Regions from separate parts of the Homo sapiens genome. Here all the other regions are linked to region 1. The links are contacts of gene promoters, found by promoter capture Hi-C in blood cells and fetal thymus (Javierre and others, 2016). All regions are on one chromosome and are shown on one strand. The core of a region is centred on a gene start or on the middle of the fragment in contact, and the rest is flanking DNA. Distances in the headings are between cores, read along the strand shown.

Region 1 (2,811 bases), core at 191-2,690:
TGCAGATCTTTTTTTTTTTTTTCAGACGGAATCTCACTCTGTCACCCAGGCTGCAGTGCAGTGGTGCGATCCCGGCTCACTGCAACCTCTGCTTCCCGGATTCAAGCAATTCTCCTGCCTCAGCCTCCCAAGTAGCTGGGATTACAGGCATATGCCACCATGCCCGGCTAATTTTTTTGTATTTTTAGTAGAAACGAGGTTTCACCATATTGGCCAGGCTGGTCTCGAACTCCTGACCTTGTGATCCACCCACCTCCGACCTCCCAAAGAGCTAGGATTACAGGTGTGAGCCACCGCGCCCAGCCATTCTTTGTAGATCTTAACAGTTCCATTTAGTTGAGTATCTTAAGGGTTTTTGGTGTTTTTTCCTCCAAAAAGTGAATCTTCACCAGAGAACTTCTGTTTTTGTCTTTTTTTTTTTTTTTTTAAAGCAAAGACTTTAATGTGCAAGTTAGTAAATGGTTTGAGGGTCTGGTATTGCACTCGGCCTTCAATACGTTAGCAATAACTACCCACATGTGATCTATTTAGAAGCAGTGTTTGAAAGCACCAATGTCACCCCATCTGCTTTTTTGTAGTTTTTTTTTGTTTGTTTGTTTTTGAGACAGAGTCTCGGTCTGTCTCCAGGCCGCAGTGCAGTGGCGCGATCTCGCCTCACTGCAACCTCCGCCTCCCAGATTCAAGCGATTCTCCTGCCTCAGCCTCCCGAGTAGCTGGGACTACAGGCGCGCGCCACCACACCCAGCTAATTTTCGTATTTTTAGTAAAGACGAGGTTTCACCATGTTGGCCAGGATGGTCTCGATCTCTTGACCTCGTGATCCGCCCGCCTCGGCCTCTCAAAGTGCTGGGATTACAGGCGTGAGCTGCTGCGCCCGGACTAACTTTTTTTTAAAGCTGAGGAAATGAGAGAAGGGGAATAAACTTTGTGTAGCTACAAACAGGATGGCAAAATTAAATTTCAAAGAACGGGCGGGGAAGGTTTCAGATGCAATGGCTTCTTATTCCTTCTTTTGACTGACCCGCGCCTTCTCCGCCTCCCTTTCTCCTCGCGTCACCCGCACCAGCGGCTGGGATGCGGCGCGCGTTCCGTCTTTCCGTATGGAAACATGGCGCCTAGGGGCGGGCCATCCCCAGCTTCGAGCCACCGCCAGCTGAGACTCATCGGCGGGCACTCGGCCATGCCTCTCGCGTTTCCGTACGAAAACATGGCGCCTCACTGCGTGCGGCGGGCGACTCTTGGCTGGGAGCCACTGGCCACGGAGCCCCCTGAGCGGTCATCGGCCATGTTTTCCACCTCTCCCTGAGGAAACACGGCGCCGCCCAGCTGCGAGTCACCGCTTACTGAACCCCTTCGGCAAGCAGGGGAAAGACCCTCCCGCCTTTCCGTACGAAGACATGGCGCTGCCCTATATTGGGCTGGCGCCTCCCGGCCAAGAGCAGTCTCCTCCTTCCTGATGCTGAGAAGCGGCCGCTCTGACCGCTGCCCACCCGAGTCGGGCTGGGAGGACCGCCCGCCGCGTGGCGAGGGATGCGGCCTCGGAGGGGCAGAGGCTGAACCGCCCCTGCCTGCCGCGCATCCCTCCGGCTTCCGCCGCGGCGCCAGCCCGCGCCTGATTCGCGGCGGGAGCGGCAGGAGGGAGAACGCCGACTCCGTGGCAGGTGAGAGCGGGAGCTGGGGCGGAGGCTGGCGGGGCCCGTCCGGGAGGCGCGCGGTCCAAGTCGCAGGCATCTCTTCGCCTCTTCCCGTCGGATCCCATCCCGGGATGTCGGGGGCAGGCGAGGAAGAGGCGGGGTCCGCGGGCGGGTGGAGCTCACCCCTCGAGGCTGTCCTCTCGGCGCGCCCGCGTCCTCCCCTACTCCCGGCCCTGCCACTCCCTCGCTGGCCTGAACAGCTGTTTACAACGGAATCCGGACGCCGGGCGCGAGTGGAGCTCAGTGCCAGAGGAGGGGATTCCCGGCGCCGGGGGACAGAGCCCCTTTTTTCTTTTGCCGAAAGACCCTTTCTGCTGGGGAGCCTCTTGTGTCCAGCCTAGGCCCGCGTGCAGCGCCGACGGATGACCGTCTTCTTGGCAAGTGCGAGGATCCTCCTCCCCTCGGCTCTCTTTTTAGACACAGTGGGGGTTGAATGGATGCGCGCGATATAAGCAAATTAAATGGTTCGTGGCCGCATCCTAGAGCCCTTTAATTAGAGTTACCATTTGTAGAAGGCCTGCCGTGCACAATCCCTCGTTTCATCTCCCCCCAAACCGAGCAGGTAGGTAGCTGTGTTTTACAGAGGAGGACACTGAAGTTACACAGCTAGTAAAGAGCCAGAATTGGGGCCCAGGTATGTCTGAAACCAACGCCCAGCCTCCCAGATACAGTGACATCACAGAGATGACGTAGGGATTCATCTCTATCAACAGATACTTGTGGGTGTCTATTTGGGGGATATACAGATGGAGCATAAGTGGGGAATATGACTGGTCCTGGCTCTTAAGAAGTTCGAAATCTAGGTGGGGAATTTTAAAATAAAAACTAGCACTTTTACCATCTGGCCCCAACGCATCTTTCCATCATCTCTAGCCACTTCCTTTTCTCATTTTCTTGTGCCTTGGCTTCTGCCCTCTGAGTGAAATGCCCTCCTTTTCACCTCCTCTCCCCCTCCTCTCCCCCTCCAGACATGTTTTAACTAGGTGAAATCCTACTCCTTTTAAAGATCAGTTCAAATGTCATCTTTTCTGGGAAGGTTTTCTCAATCTCCTCCCAGGCAGAGTTAGTTTCTTCCTCTGCTATATTCCCTGGGCAATTTCATAATGCCACTTAAGTT
Region 2 (2,811 bases), core at 85-2,584, 230 kb before region 1:
GTTTACTTAAGCCCTGTTTGGATGCTTTTGATTCAAAGTAGGAATATTCTTCATTGAGTATTTACATTAAAAAGAGACTCCACTAATGCCAAAGTATGTAGTGAATGTTCATCCTCTGCCCAACCTTCACCTGCTTCTTCCTTCAAAATTAGTTCAGAATATAGATTAAACACTTACCTGTTCTTTCCCTGACTCAAACTGCAGAATAAAGGAGTGGATACAGAGACAAACCACCTTAAGAGAACAGAAAAAAGTCATCAGAAAGTAGTTCTATCTCTGCAATCATTGATACACTAATTCGAACATACAGAACCTTGTATCTCAAAGAAGGCTCTTCCATTACTCAGGCTGAGTAGAGTGAGTTTCTAACAATAGTGTCCCAGCCTTAAGAGTGAAAAAATGAGGCAGTTACCCAGATAATTAATTTAATTTCTCTTTCAATTCTCTTCAGTTAATGATATAGACATATCTTCCACATCTTATTTTCTGCTTTTCATGTTAATGCTATTTGAACTTTTATTTGATGTTCATAAACAAGTTATACCATTTATGCACCTAAAGACTGCTTACAAACTTTCCAAGGTCACAGACTCCCTTTATTTCAATCATAGTAAATCCCTGTGACATTAATAAGCATTCCACATAAGTAGGAAAAGGATGAAAGAGCTCTTAAAACTTATACTGCTATAAAATATACTAAAATGCTTGCTGGGCCCCTTTATTCATAGAGTTCAGTGAGTCAAGTCAAGTGTAAGAAACTATATCCAAAATGTGGGTCTAAGTTAAACAAAAATATAAAACACAAAGCCAACTTGAGGTAATTTTCTGAAGAAAATCCTTCAGATCAGATTTATCTACCATACAAATTGATATTTTGGCCAAATGCGGCTTGAAACATCCATATGAAGTCAGTTAAAAATTCCACAAGACATAGCAAGAGAGACCTAGACCAGTCTTGGGAAAAGCTATGGTATTATTTTTCAGTTAATTTCCACATCTTTATGCCTTTCCCCCCTGCTCCTGACTAGCCCTCTGAGCCACCAAGTGCTTCTCTGTGGAGACTCAACTGGAGCTGACCAGTCACAGGCCTATACTCAAGTATAGCATTAAAGAATTTTAGAGCAAGAAGGAAATAAAATTCTCAATTCAAACTACAATGCCAATAATTAAAGCCCAAAGATTTCAAATACTTTTCCCAAAGTTAAACAAGCTATAGCTAATTCCAAATCTGTGGTTCATTTTGTGGCCTTTGCAGGATCTAAGACTCATTTTTGGAAAGTCCTCTTTTCTTGTTATGAAGTAGTAAACTAATTTGACCCAAGATAATAATGGGTTTAACTCACATTGCCCTATGTGAACTTCCTGACTAATATGTGTATAATCTTTGCTGTAAGCAGAAAACTAGTTAAAGGAGGTTAAAAATCCAAGTTTATTTCCATTATTGAATGTAGCTATTTTTGTGAAAGCCAAACCTCTTAAAATAACACTTAGATTCCTGTTGATTGGTGTTGACACAAAGGAGACACAGGAAAAATCATGGAGAAAAAAGCTAGTCACTGCCCAGGCATGGTAGCTCACCCCTATCATCCCGCACTTTGGGAGGCTGAGGCGGGTGGGGGGATCCCTTGAGCCCAGGAGTTCAAGACCAGCCTGGGCAACACGGTGAAACCCCATCTCTACATAAAATATAAAAATTAGCCAGGCGAGGTGGTGCACACTTGTAGTCCCAGCTACTCGGGAGGCTGAGGCGGGAGGATTGCTTGAACCCAGGAGGCGGAGGTTGCAATGAGCTGAGATCATGCCACTGCACTCTAGCCTGGCAGCCTGGGTGACAGAGCAAGACCTGTCTCAAAAAAAAAAAAAAAGAAAGAAAGAAAGAAACGAGAGAAAAGTCTTCCAAATAGACTTCTTTCAGGTGGTTAGCCTCCCCAGGTCCAAATCACAGAGCTGGCCTTAAAGGCAAAATGGTTAGAAAATTCTTACTCAGGATTATGTGAGCAAAAAGGCCGGCACAGTTAAGAATTCTGATCTGATAGGTCTGACATGGGCCCCAGGCAGACAGAATTTGAAAAAGCATCTGTTTGATTCTGGTACTAACCTGCCGCGGTTTGCCACTGCTACTATGGGTCTGAGTGAAGGAAGACGAATGCAGAAATGAAAACTTAAGACAAAATAATCTGTTTTTAAGAAGGGGTCCAGGGAAGAAGAAGAGGGCTCCCTGCTTCTAGTGAGCAAGAGCAGCCACCCTGAGCTTCTACAGCCCTTCCTATTTATTGGGTAGAAAGAGCAGGGAGGAGGAGGTAACGATTGGTCAGCTGTTTGATTGATCACAGGTTCACATTATTGCTAACAGGCTTCAAATATGCCTAATCACAAGAAGCACTGCACTTTGGGTGTGACTGCCCTCAGCATTCCTTCTGGGCAGTGGACGCAGTTTGTCAGTTTGCCAACATCCTGCATTTATGAAAACAATTTGCTGTTTACTCGTATAGCTTCCAGTGGTATACTGAATTGATCACGACCCTCACTCTTTCGGCCTGCACCACTAACCCCTGCTGATAATGAAAGGAAATAAAGGAAAATCTCTAGACCCATGGAAAACATTCTGAAATTCAAGAGTAAGAGCTACCTAGAAATGAGGCCAACAAATATTTTCTAGAAAGGGCCAGATAGTAAATATTTAGGTTTTGCATGCCATACATAAAGTTTGTCCAACCCATGGCTTGTGGGCTGCATGTGGCCCAGGACAGCTTTGAATGCAGCCCAACACAAATTCATAAACTTTCTTATGACATTATGGGATTTTTTTTT
Region 3 (2,811 bases), core at 187-2,686, 150 kb before region 1:
CATTGGTGTATTTACAATCCCTAAGCTAGACGTAAAGGTTCTCCAAGTCCCCACCAGACTCAGGAGCCCAGCTGGTTTCACCCAGTGGATCCCGCACCAGGCAGCAGGTGGAGCTGGCTGCCACTCCCACGCAGTGCTCCACACTCCTCAGCCCTTGGGCCTCCGATGGGACTGGGTGCCATGGAGCAGCGGGGCGGCGCTCATCGGGGAGGCTCCGCCCCACAGGAGCCCACAGCAGGGGGTAAGACTCAGGCATAGCAGGCTGCAGGTCCCGAGCCCTGCCCCCCGGGGGAGGCAGCTAAGGCCCGGCAAGAAATCGAGCACAGCAGCTGCTGGCCCAGGTGCTAAGCCCCTCACTGCCCAGGGCTGGCGGGGCTGGCTGGCAGCTCCGAGTGGGGGGCCCGCCGAGCCCACGCCTACCCAGAACAGGCACTGGCCCGCAAGCGCCCCGGACAGTCCCGGTTCCTGCCCCCGCCTCTCCCTCCACACCTCCCCTCAAGCTGAGGGAGCCGGCTCTGGCCTTGGCCAGCCCGGAAAGGGGCTCCCACAGTGCAGCAGTGGGCTGAAGGGCTCCTCAAGTGTGGCCAGAGTGGGCGCCAAGGCCTAGGAGGCGCCGAGAGCAAGCGAGGGCTGCCAGCACGCTGTCACCTCTCAGGACTACAGGTGCACCACCATGCCTGGCTAATTTTTATTTCCTTTCTGATGTTTTAATTTAATTTATGATGTTGACCTAAGAGATGGAAACCAGGGCTGCTCTGGCAAAGACAGGGCTTATAGTTTCCCTCAATGCCAGAAGAGAAGGGAAAAATTTAAAACCATATCTTCTTTCCCTGTTCAAATCACTTCTCACACACATATTCCTTGTATTCTCAGTGAAACCACAAACTTGACCTTCTTGGATCTTTCTTCTTGATGGTTGGTCTATTTATAACATAGGAATGTGTGGACTTACTGACTACATTTCTAGTTAGGCAACCCCAAATTCTGCATTTCCCAACAAGCTAATGAACAAGGCCACCTCAGTGAAGATGGGGTTTCCTGGGTCTCACCCCAACTGATTCCCTCCATCATCTTAAAGCAAGTCACTCAATACCAGGCCTCAGCTTCCTCAACTACAAAAGGAAGGCAATGAACTATGTACTCAATAGAACTACAATCTTTCTACCAGTTGAAATACTTATTTTCTTTTTTTTTTTTTTTTGAGAGGCAAAATCAATTACTTCCTTTTCAATTGTCCTCTGGTGCTTTATTCCAATTTCTATTATATTTAACACTATCCTATTGCATTACAATTAGTTGTGTGTCTGCCTCTTTTCCTCATAAATTACAGGTTCCATAAAGACAGGCGTTGTATTAAATTTACCCTCGTATTCACAGCATTTAGTATTATGCTTGGCACTGTATTAGGCTCTAAATACATATCTATTGAATGAATAAATATGTAAGCTACTTTAAAAATGCCCATTCAGGCTGGATGCGGTGGCTCATGCCTGTAATCCCAGCACTTTGGGAGGCTGAGGTGGGCATATCACGAGGTCAGGAGATCGAGACCATCCTGGCTAACACGACGAAACCTCGTCTCTACTAAAAATACAAAAAATTAGCTGGGCGTGGTGGCGGGCACCTGTAGTCCCAGCTACTCGGGAGGCTTAGGCAGGAGAATGGCGTAAAACCCAGGAGGCAGAGCTTGCAGTGAGCCGAAATCGCGCCACTGCACTCCAGCCTGGGCGACAGAGCAAGACGCTATCTAAGAAAAAAAAATGCCCATTCAGAAGTTCCAATTAGTCATTTACATATTCCTTTCCTTTCCCCCCCAAAAAAGAAAAACCAAAACACTCTATCTCAATTCTAAAATCGGGGCAAGATTTGAAAATTGATTAAATCAAAGGCAGTTTGGTTTTAAGATGAATTGGAGTAAATCCTACACTTAAGAAGGAATCTTCCAGCACTTTGGAAGGCTGAGGTGGGAGGATTGCTTGAGGCCAGGAGCTCAAGACCAGCCTTGGACACCATAGCGAGACCCTGTCTGAAAAAAAACAAAAAAAACTCTTTCCTTCTTCCTCACCTCCATCTCCCACTTCCTTCTGAGTTTATTGTCTAGAGTTAGTCATGCCTTAGAACATGCCCATGAACAATCTCCCCACATTTTCCACCCTAACTCCCATCCCATTAGAAAATCAATACGTATTTCACAGGTCGCGGTGGCTCACGCCTGTAATCCCAGAACTTTGGGAGGCTGAGGCAGGCGGATCATCTGAGGTCAAGAGTTCGAGACTAGCCTGGCCAAAATGGTGAAACCCGTCTCTACTAAAAATACAAAAAAATTAGCTGGGCGTGGTGGCATGCGCCTGTATTCCCAGCTACTCAGGAGGCTGAGGCAGGAGAATCGCTTGAATCCGGGAGGCGGAGGTTGCAGTGAGACGAGATCACCCCACTGCACTCAAGCCTGGGCGACAGAGCGAGACTGTCTGAAAAAACGAACAAACAAAAACACGGGACCAACAATGCTCATTCTAGAGTTTGACATTACCTAGATCAGACTTGAAGCAGCTTGGTTACGAATCATTTGAGAGATCCCGAAACGTTCACAGAGCTGGAAGTATATTTTCAGTAGGGAAGAAGACATTCTTCAGATAGTATCATCAAGTGTACAAAATTTTTAAAAGATTTATTTACATATATCAAAGCATCACATTGTACCCCATAAATGTATGCAATTATGATTTGTCAATTAAAAATAGTATTGATAAAAAATGTAATGATGTTATTTGTAGACATGTAACATTTGAAAATAAATATAATTGTACTGAT

Evidence for each region. Contacts are between HindIII fragments. The CHiCAGO score rates a contact against its expected background, and 5 or more counts as called.
Region 2: a fragment that was not itself captured here is called in contact with the fragment with the promoter of TCP11L1 in region 1 in 1 of 17 cell types (M2 macrophages); the score reaches 5.3 in M2 macrophages.
Region 3: a fragment that was not itself captured here is called in contact with the fragment with the promoter of TCP11L1 in region 1 in 3 of 17 cell types (activated CD4 T cells, fetal thymus and naive CD8 T cells); the score reaches 5.6 in activated CD4 T cells.

The regions. Positions count from the first base shown.
Region 1 is chr11:33,038,132-33,040,942 of GRCh38, forward strand. TCP11L1 (t-complex 11 like 1) reads left to right here and starts at 1,441. Exons shown (of 10, transcript NM_018393.4): 1 at 1,441-1,661. RefSeq lists enhancers at 844-1,391, 1,112-1,461, 1,942-2,261 and a silencer at 1,442-1,841. The HindIII fragment of the contact is 10,463 bases long and covers 1-2,811 here.
Region 2 is chr11:32,804,781-32,807,591 of GRCh38, forward strand. It overlaps a transcript of CCDC73 not described here. Among named protein-coding and RNA genes, the nearest start is that of CCDC73, 12 kb to the left of the region's middle. The HindIII fragment of the contact is 8,561 bases long and covers 1-2,811 here.
Region 3 is chr11:32,888,071-32,890,881 of GRCh38, forward strand. No RefSeq gene overlaps it. Among named protein-coding and RNA genes, the nearest start is that of QSER1, 3.3 kb to the right of the region's middle. The HindIII fragment of the contact is 5,575 bases long and covers 1-2,811 here.